Linked DNA regions of Homo sapiens: region 2 is linked to region 1. The links are contacts of gene promoters, found by promoter capture Hi-C in blood cells and fetal thymus (Javierre and others, 2016). All regions are on one chromosome and are shown on one strand. Each heading gives the region's core, a stretch centred on a gene start or on the middle of the fragment in contact. The rest is flanking DNA. Distances are from core to core; before and after follow the strand shown. Region 1 holds the start of SMAD5-AS1 (SMAD5 antisense RNA 1). Region 2 has its middle 28 kb from the start of IL9.

Evidence for each region. Contacts are between HindIII fragments. The CHiCAGO score rates a contact against its expected background, and 5 or more counts as called.
Region 2: a contact is called between a fragment that was not itself captured here and the fragment with the promoter of SMAD5-AS1 in region 1, in 1 of 17 cell types (M1 macrophages). The highest score is 5.0, in M1 macrophages.

Annotation. Positions count from the first base shown.
Region 1 is chr5:136,131,714-136,138,612 of GRCh38, forward strand. SMAD5-AS1 (SMAD5 antisense RNA 1) reads right to left here and starts at 3,177. Exons shown (of 2, transcript NR_026763.1): 1 at 1,637-3,177. SMAD5 (SMAD family member 5) reads left to right here and starts at 1,132. Exons shown (of 8, transcript NM_005903.7): 1 at 1,132-1,249. RefSeq lists enhancers at 396-455, 486-535 and a silencer at 846-1,485. The HindIII fragment of the contact is 4,393 bases long and covers 2,060-6,452 here.
Region 2 is chr5:135,920,262-135,927,160 of GRCh38, forward strand. No RefSeq gene overlaps it. Among named protein-coding and RNA genes, the nearest start is that of IL9, 28 kb to the left of the region's middle. The HindIII fragment of the contact is 234 bases long and covers 3,490-3,723 here.

The DNA of each region.
Region 1 (6,899 bases), core at 1,927-4,426:
GAGCAAAATAGTGGCTGCGCCATTTGTGTGTCAGATGAGATGACCCTGGCTCGGGCCATGGAGGTGGCAATTGAGGTGTGAGAAATGGTCAGATTTAGGATAAATTTTGAAGAAAGAGTCAGTAGAATTTCTGATGGATTGGATTAGGGTGTCAAAGAGCATTCCAAAATGACCCCGATTTTGATTTTTACTTATTTTAAAAAGAAAACCTATAATAGAACATTGGAGAGCCAGTATTGACCTTTTCAAATAAAAACAAAATTATTCAAAAGCTTTTTCTTACTAGTACTATTCAAATCGGGTACCCTATGTGGTACCAATATTATATTCTAGGAAATACTGACGGTTTTGGAAATTTGGAGGAAAAAGCATCGAGAAGAGCTCCAATTACTTAGAAAAGAGAGTCCAGGAGATGGGGTGGTGTATATAAGCCTATGGATGGTGTCTCTGCAACTCAGTGGCCCCGCCTGTCCAGGGGCTGGGTCCCCACGGGATCTCCCTCCCCACAAGGAGGTGGAGAGGCTATGTGTCTTGAACAACTGGGGTTGCGATCCAGTGTATGGGCAGTCCCACTCCTGGAACTCCAGGGTGGGCACTCGCTCCATTTCCACAGGCCCTCAAGGGTTCCAGGATTGCCCCGTGGGAGGGGTTTTAGTGCTGCATCTAGTAAGAAGCTGTAAGATGCTCAGAAACATGTTTTGAAGCTACTTTGCACAGAAAGAAGACTCTTCATTCAGATTTGTATTACAGATCAATAAAAGTAGCTAAGTCGTATCTGAAGATGTTTTTGTTTACACTTTGTATGTGACAGAAAACCTCCAGTTGTCTGTGTCAAGGACAATTACTTAATTTTATTACAATGTATACTGATTTGGTTAGTGGAAGCTTCTAGCGCCTACTGTGGTGGTGGTGGGAGCTATCTGATTCCCATTCCCAGGCCTGGCCATCGACGCGAAGGCCTCCAGCTGATCGGAAGTCGGCGTTGGCCGGCGCGGAGCCCGGCGCGGAGGCTTCTTTCAGCCGCCCGGGCAAGACACCCCTCCCTCGGTCCCGCAGCGGTCACTCCGCCTCTGGCGCGCATGCGCCGACCCCAGCGGGCGTCCTCCCGGGCTCCCTCTCCCTCCCTCCCTCATCCGGGTCCTGGGCGAGCGGGCGCCGTGCGCGTGTCCCGCGGCCGAGCTGCTAATAAAGTTGCAGCGAGGAGAAGCGCAGCGACGGCGTCGGGAGAGCGCGCCTAGCCGGCTCGCGAGTGAGTGAGGGTCCCCGGCGCGCGCGGGCGAGGGGAACTGGGGGCTGCAGGCTCTGCCCCGGCGGACTCGGGCCGAGGCGGGGGCGTTCGGCCGCGGACGGAGCGGAAACGACCCAGGGCCTGTCGGGCGGGAGGTAGGCCGAGTCCTGGCCTGCCGGGGTCCCGGCTGGCGGACACGGTGCGGCCCAGCGGCTGCGGAGGCCTCGCTGGCTGCCCGGGGCGTCCTGAGGCGGGGCCGGGGCTGGCCCTCGTCCCAGCCCCGCTGTTACCGCCCAGACTTTGGAGGGAGGCGTCTGGGACGCCCTGGAGGGGACCCCCTGACCCCGCGCTGTCCTGGGGAGCGGTTTGCTTTCCTAACTCATCGGATGTACCACCCTGGATACACACCCTTGATAGGACTGCGGTGCTCGGCCGGGCAGCCTGGGCTGCTGCACTGCGAAGCTGTCCAATGGCTTGATGAATCCGTGCCGCCGTCGCTTTGTGTTTCAAAGATAAGGATCCGCGCTTATCGGTGGGAATTACACTCTGGGCAGTTGTGACCGGCTACTGCAATCAGCTGGTAGTTAGACCTGGTTTCTGCCACTTGCCATGTCAGTTTTCACCACTGCAAGGATTTCTTCTACTTCATGTAAACTTCTCTGTGCTGCAAAGAGAATGCCAAAGCAGCGTCTTTTTGCCTTCACCATATTCAGCCGCTGGCCGGGTCCTATACTTCAATATCAGGGCTCAAATTAATATTCCAGTCTCTTCCCCTCCCCTTTTCCCCTCTCCTCCTTTCAGCTGCTGTTACTACGTGGAGTTTGGAGCCTAAGCTTTGAAAACTCCCATGTGGCGCGCCCGTCTTAAGTCTGAGCATGCTCAGTAGCCAAAACAGATTTTTGGTTGCAGAACTCGGGCGAGGATACTTGGGGTATTTGGACGTTTGCCGGCTTCCCAACAGAATGTTCCGGTTCTGGTGGTGATGGCATTGGAGAATGGGGCTTAGGCAAGCCTGTAGGTGAGGAATGGCTGAACACCCTGAGCCAGATGTTTATCTTGATTGTAAAGACAATGTTTCCTGACCAGCTGGAGCTTTGGGGGGGGGGGGGGGGTGTTGCGGGGGGAGGGAGCAATTTTGGTTGCTTGTGCATTTAAATGGGTGTGGCGCTAAGTATATCTTGTTTACCTTATCTTTCTGTGGAAAAGTTTTGATGTCTAGGTTTGTCACATCATGCCTGTTGCCTAGCACTACCAAAAGGGTTGTTATCTAGCAGCAAAGATTGAATAGGTGGAGGTCGTGGCTTGGCCTCACAGAAGTTGAGAGGAAAGGGTACTTGGGTTGCGTTTTTGAAAATTCGTATTTAAAACTAGAGTACTTGAATTTCCTTAGAGTACCTGAATTGCCCAGAGTGAATTAGTTTTTAATTTTAATTTGAAAGACAAAAGATTGAAAACCTTAGTCCCAGTAGGTTTAGTAACATTCCAAATAGCTTACAATTTCTGCTAGATGCCAATGCAGTAGTATCCATTGTGGGGAAAACAGTACCTACATTCAGTGTGACAGTTTCACATTTATGGATCCAAATATCATTATGAAATTAGTGTTCCAAATTTAAGGAGCTATTTGCAGATGTATAACAAATTATTTTAGTCTTTTATTCCTTTGGTAACTATTAATATTTTTTTCTCTACAGTGAAAATTGTAAAAATGCAAAACTTAGACAATTTAACAAAACTTAACCTTCATAAAGGTTGTAGATACTATGTTTAGATTTATAAAGTTTAATTTTGATGATTATTTGTGTGATTGTTCCTATACAGCTTCCTTTCCTTCCCTTTCCACATTGTTGCTCCCTCAGTCTTTTTTACATTACTGCTGTTAATTTACCCATGTATCTTTGTTAAAAATACCTTATTCATCATTTTGTGCTTCCATTCCTTTCAGATCATAGCTGAAATAAGCAAGAAAAGTTAGATTAACCTTCTCAACTGACTTTACTCTCAGGTTTTAAAGGCATCCACATGATATGGTCTAGTTAAAAGGAGGAAGAGAGCAGCAAACTGGAAAAAAAGAATAAAATATTTTCGTAGGTTCTGTACAGATCTGGTAGTATTATCTGCGTGTCTGGTTCACTGTGGTAGGCGCCACAGAAATGGGTAGATTGATAATGTGTTGGATTTCTTTCCCCTCTGGCAAAGTCAGCTATTAATTTCAGTGGGAGACAGTGGCAGAATGTTGTTACTAATGAGGTTTGAATCAGATTGTTGTTTACTGTTGGTTATGTAACATGTTGCTGGGAGTATTATTAAAAGTTGCATTCTGCAGCAAAGTAGAGGCAAGTAAATTCTGCTTACCCTCTTCACTGGGTTTTAATTCTTGGCTGAACCTGAAGGCACATTAGATTACAACCATAATTATACCTGGGCAGCCTGTCTGTTTCCTGTTTTCATCATGAACCCAAACATTATGATTTGCAGTGATGATCTTTTTTGTCCTTTGCATTGAACGGAGGCAGTGTGTTTTCTCCCTCTACTGAAAACAGATTTGTAACTTGGTCAAATTAAAGATTTTAGTGTTTTGAAAACTAGGCAGTAAAATACCAGTTTTTCATTTCTTAATACAGTTACTTAAGTTGAAATACCATCTAAAAAAATCTATTTCATATATATTCTTTGTCTTTATGTAAATTTTAATATTACTAGTACTTTGTAGAGTTAAAGAAACTCTTTTTGTTTATGACATATCAGTGTTTATTATTACCAGATGTATATGTTGGTCTAGGCAATGAGCCACACATCTGGGTGAATTTCAGAGCTGACTTGAGTACGCTTGAGGATATAGGTGTCTATTCTCTTGGTTTATCAGTCTTCCCTGTTTTTACTTCTAGACGATCTATATTCCTTGTATCTGTCTGTCTGTCTCTCTGTCTCTCTGTACACTAACCACAAAGAAGGCAAATAGTTTATTTCTTCAAATGTTACAAGCAGCTTATAGCCTATGATTTGCCCGTCTTCTCATAGGGTCAAAGACATTGAGTAAGATTCCCTTTTATAAGGGATACTAGTAGCCTGAGGAATGATTCTTGTCTCCACCAGTCTGGATATTCTAGAGAAAAGAATACCTGGATATTCTAGAGAAAAGAATATTCTAGAGAAAAGAAAAGGCCCAAGGAAGCTGGGATGCAATATAGGGTGCTTTCCCATCAAAACAGATGATGAAGGACCCTTGGAAGCTGACCCATGGCATCCCCCCGCCACTGGGTTCTAGCTCTGTCGCCCAATCTGGAGTCCAGTGGCGCAATCTTGGCTCACTGCAACCTCCGCCTCCCGGGTTGAAGCAATTCTCCTGCCTCAGCCTCCCAAGTAGCTGGGATTACAGGCACCCACCACCATACCCGGCTAATTTTTGTATTTTTAGTAGAGACGGTGTTTCACCATGTTCGCCAGGCTGGTCTTGAACTCTTAACATACCTTGTTTTTCCACTTCTGAAGTTAATAGAATAATAGTCATTGGAATTTGCAGTTCATTGGTGTTGTCACATACCCTTTACCTCTAATCAGAAGTCTGAATCTGAGAAGTTTGTTTACTAAATGGGAGGTAAAGATTTAGAACTCTTTTGGAAGAATTGTTAAAAACTAGATTGTTGTTAGGACTAATCTCATAGGCCACCTTAATATTCTAACAGCTTTGTTGTTTTCCAACCTGGAAAGATGGGGTAATTACAGAGTTCTTAGGTTTTTCATAAATAATCAGCTAGTTCTGGGCTATTTATTTGAGAGTGTCTCTCTCTGTCGCCCAGGCTGGGGTTCAGTGACGCGATCTTGACTCACTGCAATTCTGCCTCCCGGCTTCAAGCGATTCTCCTGCCTCAGCCTCCTGAGTAGCTGGGATTACAGGCACCCACCACCACGTCCAGCTCATTTTTTGAATTTTTAATAGAGATGGAGTTTCACCTCGTTGGCCAGGCTGGTCTCGAACTTCTGACCTCAAGTGATCTGCCCGCTATGGCCTCCCAAAGTGCTGGGATTACAGGTGTGAGCCACCGTGCCTGGCTGGGCTCTTTATTTAGTTTTGATTTTTTTTTTTTTTTTTTTTGCCTTGGGCAGCTAGGGGGGATGTTTTTGGCCCAGTTCTAGTAGAGTGGTGTTTTCAGTGACTTTTCTTCCTCCTTTTACTGTATCCTACCTTGGTTGAGATGATATTTTGCAAGAAAGAGTTCTTTATTAAGTCAGTTCTGTGTGTGCAATACTATAATTGTAATTCACTTTTGGAAGCTAGTTATTAACATAACATTTTGTAACTAGGTTTTGCTCTTGAATTTTTTGGGACCCCCCCCCGCATCTCTTCCTATAGCATATATGTACTTTATAGACTGGTACAATATAGAAGTTTGAAAGTGATTTGACCTGTTAAGATTTTAGCAGGATTTTTTCTTTTGATATCCATATATGTTGTTTTGTTATACCGAAAATAATAGAAAAAAACTAGTGTCCCATTCCCACTTTTTCTCTGAGCATAGCAACTGGAGTCTTGGGAGGAGGCTTACATCTTTCAAATTTAACTATGATCTCAGAATATGGCTGGTGCTTTCAAGGCAAGTTTTGTTTTGTTCAGGTTTGTTTTCATGATGTGTTAGGATCTGCCTAGTATCCTATCTGGTAGGCTGTACAACTTGAGTTCTAGTTATTCTGGTTTGTGTGTTCCCAGGAAGAGGGGGGTTCTGCAAAAATATTTAAAAGCCAGTCTTCTTCTGTTTTCTTCTTAGTCACATCTTCTGTCTACTTTACTCATTGACCATTTCTCATTCTTTGGAGATGAAAGTGTAAATTAAGTGAATGATGACACTAGAGCTGAAAAGTTACCCAGAGTCATGTTTATTCCCTTTTCTACTAAGCAGGGAACTTGAACTCTGGGTGCACATGAGTTCTCTGGAGAACATCTTCATAATGCACTGTAATATATGTCGTGTACACAGGTTAGCTCTTTGTGCTCCAGAGACACATTTTACAGTCATGATTTGGTATCTGCACTTGATGATTTTATAATTTAAAGGAATCACTACAAAGATTGACCAGCTCTGTGTCTGTTCCTGTGCCTACACGCCTGTACAAGCATACTCAAACACATCTGGTAGCAATGTAGGAAATCTTGCAGGCTCTGTGGGGGTGAGTGATACATTTAGATCAGGCTCTGTTTAATTAGGGGACTTAGAGGAGCAGGTGAAGCTTAAAGAGTGATTAAAAACTGGGAAACAAAAGTCTGGCTGTGGGAGATAATAAAGTAGAGAATTCTGTGGGCACAGAATAGGCAAGAAGATTATGCAGTGAGAAGTGTTGGGAATCATGAGTTCAGCTCCTGAAGGGCTTTGAAATCTGCTATGAGAACTTCTTATGTCTTTGGAAATCGGGAGCCACAGTTGAGGAAAGTGGTGATTTAAATGTTTCTCTGTGAAAATAATTTTGGCGCCCATGTAATTGTATCCTGTCTTTCTTGTAGATGTTCTTATAAAGAATAGGATTTCTGAATCTAGAAGAGCTGTGAGCAAACATGCTTTTGGTTTCCTTCTCCTCTCTGCGTGCAGTTGTGAATGTGGCTTACAAAGTTGATAGCAGTTGTATACATGGATCTAGGGATGGTTTGACAGTGGTGGTGGTGGTTGTCTACTTGCTG
Region 2 (6,899 bases), core at 2,357-4,856, 210 kb before region 1:
TATTTTAATTTCTATTTTTGTAATAACTTTTAACACCACCATCTAGAAGACACGGTGGTAGGTGCTGGTGTGTTCAGAGATGATATGACCAGTAGTAAATATTTATTGTTGCAAGCACTTAGCTGCATTGTACGTATAAGTGTGGGGCCCACAGTTTGTTCTCTTGCACTGTTCCCTGTCCTGGATTGGCTGCATAGTCCTTCACTGGCAAACCTTGTTGATATCAGTAAGTCTGATTTCTTAAAGTCTTCTCAATACCTTGTTTATAAAGAGTTGCCTTATTTCTGTTGGCACTTGATTGGTGGGATTGCTGGCAGTATACCACTATCCTATGGCATTTTAAATATTATATCTGTTAACTATTGTAGCTCTTTTCTATTTCCTCTGGGAAGTACTCTATTTTATGATTTTAGGGTAATTGGTAATACAGAGTATTCCTTCAATTAACTATAATCTTTTTTAAAAAATCACTTCAGAGCATTTTCTTTCTAGAACCAGTAAATCAAATTAATCAAAACCACTTAATTTTAAGTTCTTAATTTTTAATCTTAAAATATGTCAGTTTTCATAGGTTGTAAATTAACATGGGAGGACATGCCATAAACAAACAAATCAAAATTTAGTAGCTTGAAACAGTTCCCTGTTCTTTATAAGAAATATCTTTGTGTTAACATTTTCCTTTTGCTAAAAACACTATGAAATTTTTTTTTGGTAATGACTCCTTTTTGAAATGCACTTTAAAATGACGGATCACCAGGACATCTATAAAACATGACGTACTAACCTACTTTTATTAGGTGATTTTGAAGGACTAACCCTGTTTCTCTTGATCCCAGACTTATGCTGACAATCAAAGTAATAATACAGAGTTTTGTCTTTCATAAATAAAATGACTACAGAAAATTATCTCGAGATTAACAAAGTATTCCTATGAAATTTTCAGTTAAACATGGCAATAAAATCACTTGCTTCTTTTTAAACAAAATATATTTGTAGAATTATTTTCCTTGAATTTCAGCTTTTGAAACCAAGTAATCTGCAACGTTGGAAAACATGATTCAGTGTTACATTTTATTTTAAATATGTTGCAATGTGAAAGCTTTACTAGAAGAGCAATAGTAAAAAGCAATAGGTTAAAAATTATTTTTATTCCTTATTTTAAAAAGTGATAACTTCAGATCCATGAAGCTGTGCAAAAAAAGTCCACCATAAACCAGAAGAACATGTTGTTAATGAAATCTTGAGCTCCATACAATGCCCTTGACTTTATTCACTTTTCAACACAGAGTAATGGCTTTGAATCAATGTTGTCAGTGATGACTAAGCCTGACCCATTTAGAAATGCTTATTTCATAATTCCCCATTTACGAGGGCTTCATACTGTGGATAGAATGCAAAGAACAGCAAGCTCTTCTACATTTAGAGACACACTAGCTGGGACTTGTGATTTTAAAATGAATAGCCTTAATCTTGAAGTAAAGTTAAATAGCTCCTTTACTAATTTCCTTTAGGGAAAACTTAATCTAAAGAAATATGAAGTAAAAACTGTATCTCAAAAATGTTGAGAGATTTTTGCACAGGCAAGAAATCTTGACTGATGTAGATAATAGGCTATTTATATTTTAAATAGTAAAAAACAAATTCTTAAAGGAAAAATATGATCAATCTTCAGGACATAATTAATCCATTGCAGGTTTAAATGAAATGAATTAGAACAGAGGGAAATCTTACAGTGTCTTTTTATGCTGGCAAGGTGTTTTGCAGTGTCCAAGGGAAAACATGTGCAAAATGTACCTGAACTTTTCTCTCGGAAGTGGGCAGTTTACATATTAAGCCACATACAGACATGATTCAGAGATATTGTGGGTTCAGTTCCAGACCACTGCAATAAAGCAAATACCTCATTGAAGCAATTTGTATGAATTTTTGGTTTCTCAGTGCATATACAAGTTATATTTACACTATACTGTAGTCTAGGTGTGCAGGAGCATTATGTTTAAAATCTTTACGTACCTTAATTTAAAAATGCTTGACTGAAAAAAAAATGCTAACCATCATCTGAACCTTCAGTGAGTCATCATCTTCTTGCTGGTGGAGGATCTCGTCTTGATGTTGACGGCCGCTGACTGATCAGGGTAGTAGTTGTTGAAGATTGGGGTGTCTGTGGTAATTTCTTAAAATAAGACAACAGTGAAGTTTGCACACGGATTGACTCTTCCTTTCACAAGAGATTTCTCTGTAGCATTTAATGTTGTTTGGTAGCATTTTACCCACATTAGAACTTCTTTCAAAATTGGAATAAATACTCTCAAACCCTGCTGCTGCTTTATCAACTAAGTTTATGGAATATGCTAAATCCTTTGTTGTCATTTCAACAATGTTCACAGCATCTTCACCACAAATAGACTCCATCTCAAGAAACCACTTTCTTTGCCCACCCATGACAGGCAACTCCTCATCTGTTCAATTCTTGTGAGACTGCAACAATTCAGTCACATCTTCAGGCTCCACTTCTTACTCTAGTTCCCTTGCAGTTTCCACCTCACCTGCACTTCCTTCCTCCATGATGTCTTAAACCCCTCAAAGTCATCCATTTAGGCTGGAATCAACTTATTCCAAACTCCTGTTAATATTGATACTTTGGCCTCCTCCCATGAAGCCCAAATGTTCCTAATAGCATCTAGAATGGTGAATCCTTTCCAGTAGGTTTTCAATTTGCTTTGCCCAGATATATCAGAGGAATAACTATCTATGGCAGCAATAGCCTTACAAAATATATTTCTTAAATAGTAGGACTTGGAAATCAATCCTTGATGCATGGGCTGCAGAATGGATATTGTGTTAGCCGGCCTGAAAACACTAATTTCCTTGTACATCTCTATCAGAGCTCTTGGGTGAGCACTGTCCATGAACAGTAATATTTTGAAAGGAATCTCTTTTTCTGAGAAGTAGATCTCAATAGTGGGCTTAAAATAGTAAAATATGCTGTAAACAGATGGCTTTGTCATATTTCTAGAACAGAGAAGGAGCAGATTAAGCATAATTCTTAATGGAATTAGGATTTCTAGAATAGTAAATGAACATTAAAGTAAAGCCAATGCTTTAATTTAAAGTCACCACCCACATTATTCCTAACAAAAGAGGCCAGCTGTTCTTTGAAGCTTTGGTACAAGGCATTGATTTCTCCTCTTTAGTTATGAAAGTCCTAGATGGCATCTCCTTCCAATAGAAGACTGTTTAATCTACATTGAAAATCTGTTTTGAATGTAGCTGCCTTTATCAATGATCTTGGCTAGATCTTCTGGATAACTTGCTGCAGCTTCTCCATCAGCACCTGCTGCTTCACCTTGCACTTTTATGTTATGGAGATGGCTTCTTTCCCTAAATCTGATGAACCAAACTCTGCTAATCTCAAACTTTTCTTCTGCAGCTTCCTCACCTCTCTCAACCTTCATAGAATTAAAGAGGTTAGGGCCTTGCTCTGGATTAAGCTTTGGCTTAAGGGCAGGTTATAGCTGATTTCATTTTCTATCCAGACCATGAAAACTTTCCCCATACCAGCAATAAGGCTGTTTCACTTTCTTGTCATTTGCGTGTTGACTGGAGTAGCACTTTTTAATCTCCTTCAAGGACTTTTCCTTTGCATTCAAAACTTGGCTAATTGTTTAACACAAGAAGCCTAACTTTCAGCGTATGTCCGATTTTGACATGCCTTCATCACCAAGCTTAATCATTTTTAGATTTGAATTTAAAGTGAGAGACAAGGAACTTATCCTTTCACTTGAACACTTAGAGGCCATTCTAGGGTTATTAATTGGCTTAATTTCGATACTGTTGTGTCTCAGGGAATAGAGATGCCCAAGGAGGGGGAGAGAGATGAGGAAACAGCCAGTGATTGGAACTCAGAACACACACATTTATCAAGTTTGCCTTCTAATATGGGTGCAGTTTGTGTCATCCCAAACCAATTACAATGGACACACCAAAGATCCCAAATCACAGATCACCATAACAGATATAATAATAATAAAGTTCAAAATATTGCAAGAATTACCAAAATGTGACACAGAAACACAAAGTGAGTACGTGCTGTTGGGAAAATGGTGCCGATAGACTTGCTTGATCCTGGGTTACCATAAAACTTCAACTTGTAAAAAACACAACATCTGAGAAGTGCAATAAAGTGAAATATGCCTGTATAGCATTACTTTATCCCACCACAGTGCCAAAAATAAAGATTCTTTATTAAATAGAAAAATTATTGGTAGAGTTTACCTGTATTTTTCTTCACAATAAGATACATAAACAATTTCATTGCAGAGTTCTGAAATGATGTTGAGTCAAATACAATTTGATCCTAGTGTAGTAAAGAGTTAACCTTACCCAAACAAAGGTCTGACTTTTGCATTTAGCTCCTAGGAGGTGATCTCTTAGTCCTTGGAGTGTCTTACCTGATAGGAGTGTCTTTGTTTACCTGGGAACCTCGGGCCACATGGGACAGTCTAATAATGTAGTTTATGGTGGAGGTTTTGGGCTACGTGATATCACCTTGACCTCAGGGGTGGGGAAGGCTGGAAACTAAAGAGCAACCACACACAGGCAGTCAACCATGTCTATGTGACCAAACTCCAACCAAAACATGAAAGAGCTTCCCTGATTGACAGTACTCTGTTGTGTATTGCTATACATTGTTGCCTGGAGAAATTTAGCACTGCTCATGATTTCACTGGAAGAGGACACTTGGAAGCTCTACATATGGATTTTTTTTTTTTTGCATTCTTCTCCATGCCTCTCTTTCCTTTGATTATTTTAATCTGTATCCTTTCACTGTAATAAACTACAACCATGAATATAACAGCTTTCCATGAGTTCTGTGAGTCCTTCTGACAAATTATCACATTTGAGGTTGATCTTGAGAATCCACAAGCTCTGAAGTTGGTGTCAGAAGTTAAAGCTGTCTTGAGGGTTTCCCAGAAATGTCCAACATGCACTCCCCCTCCACCCTCCCATCCCACCCCCCCCCACCAAAACAGAGACATCTTTTTATGTGTGAAAATATTTTTGATGTGATTTTTGTTGCACAATTTTACTTGTAACAGTCAGTACAGATGTTCCCAAACATTCCAGGTTTCTTCTTCCAGGCATAAGGTAGGACTGCACTTCTTTACCTAACTTAAGTTAGGTGTTGCCATTTTAGCTAGCTTTGGCCAATGAAGTAAGAACAGAATTGACATACAGTTAGAAGTTAAGGTGCAGTGTATGTACCTCAGTGTCTCTTTCCCATGGTCACAGACTATTTTCCAGACAGTGGCTGCTCTAACGTCCTTGGTCTCAGAATGAACACAACAGGGATGACAGCTTCTAGCTGAAGTGTGATAGAAGTGTAGCATGACTGAGAAATAAACTTTTTTTTGCATTAAATCACAGGTGTTTGTTATTTCAGCATAACCTAGCCTATTCTGACTTAAACAACCAAAATCTTTGTTTGCTCAAAGCTTAATAATAATATTTTCTTTGAAAGGACTATACAGAGATGTTCTTTTTTGTATCACAAATGGCATATTGTGTATTCCTGTATTGTAAAGTATATCATAATTATCTGACCGACATCATTTTAGATATGGCTCTTTCCATCAAAATCCAACATATTTATACTAATAATTGAAATTCTAGAAAAATTCTTCAGTAATATTCACAGAAATGCACCAAGATACAGGATTTTCACAGCCTACTTTATAATAGTAAAAACTAAATGTTCAGCAATAGAAGAAGGTTAAAGAATTGCAATGTTTCCATATAAGGGGATTGCTCATTTGGCCATTACTAAGTGAGGAAGAGATTTCTCATTACAACCAAGATAGAGAAATAGGGAATAAATTCCCTCTCTGCATAAAAGAACAAAAAAACAAAACCGGGACAAAACAACCAAAGAACAAAATCAACAACAACAACAACAAAAACACACAAAGTATTTGAAACAATGACTTTTGTAGGAATAGAAAGGGAATGATTTTTTTCCTCCTCATCATTATATAGGTCACAGCCAACATCCCTATGACAACAGGTTAACAAGAGAAAAGCATAACAAAGTTATTTGATCATAGCTTTATGTGATATGGGAATCTTCAGAACGAAGACCCAAAGATACAGGGGAGCTATCTGATTTTTGTTTAGGTTTGATGAAGCAGGGACAGTGTATAGAAATGTAATTAGATGAACAAAAGGCTATGAGCTAATGGTAATAGGCTGATTGGGAAAAACCTAGCAAGGTCTGTCTGATTAGGTTCTTCCTGAGGAAGAAATATTGTAGCATTTCTTCCTCCTGGGTATAGGGTAGGACCCTTCTGGAATCTTAATTTCTTTATAGCCAGCTGTTACCCAAAAAGGCAGAGGAAGGTTAGAGCAACACTTTTAGGTTTTACGGCTGGCTTTGGGGGAAAAGGGTTCTGGTTTCTATGACCTACCTTGGGGAAGAGGAATTCTAGTTTCTATGGTTTGCCTCAGGGAAGAATGAGGGGTGAGAGATAGAAGGGCAAAAGATCAGAGAGAAACTTTGCTTTTGAGGCTGCTTCTAAGGTCTTCGCTTTGGAGTCATTTTCAGAGCCCCAACACTTTTGAGAAACAAGATATCAGGCAACAAAAGACAAAGATCTCCAAGAGATAAGAAATAAATGAGATAAGTCCTATGATTACCCTTATTTTATTGCCTTAAAAGAATGTCTAGTCTGCTACACAGAGAGGGGGAATCCAGACTAAGTTTAGTGGACACCCTGAGTTTAGGAGTTGACAATATGCTGCTAAAGCAGTACTTATGGGTATATTTATGGCACTGCAAGCCTATGTTAGAACAGAAGAAAGGTCTCAAATCAATGAACTCAGATTCTACCCTGAGAAACTAG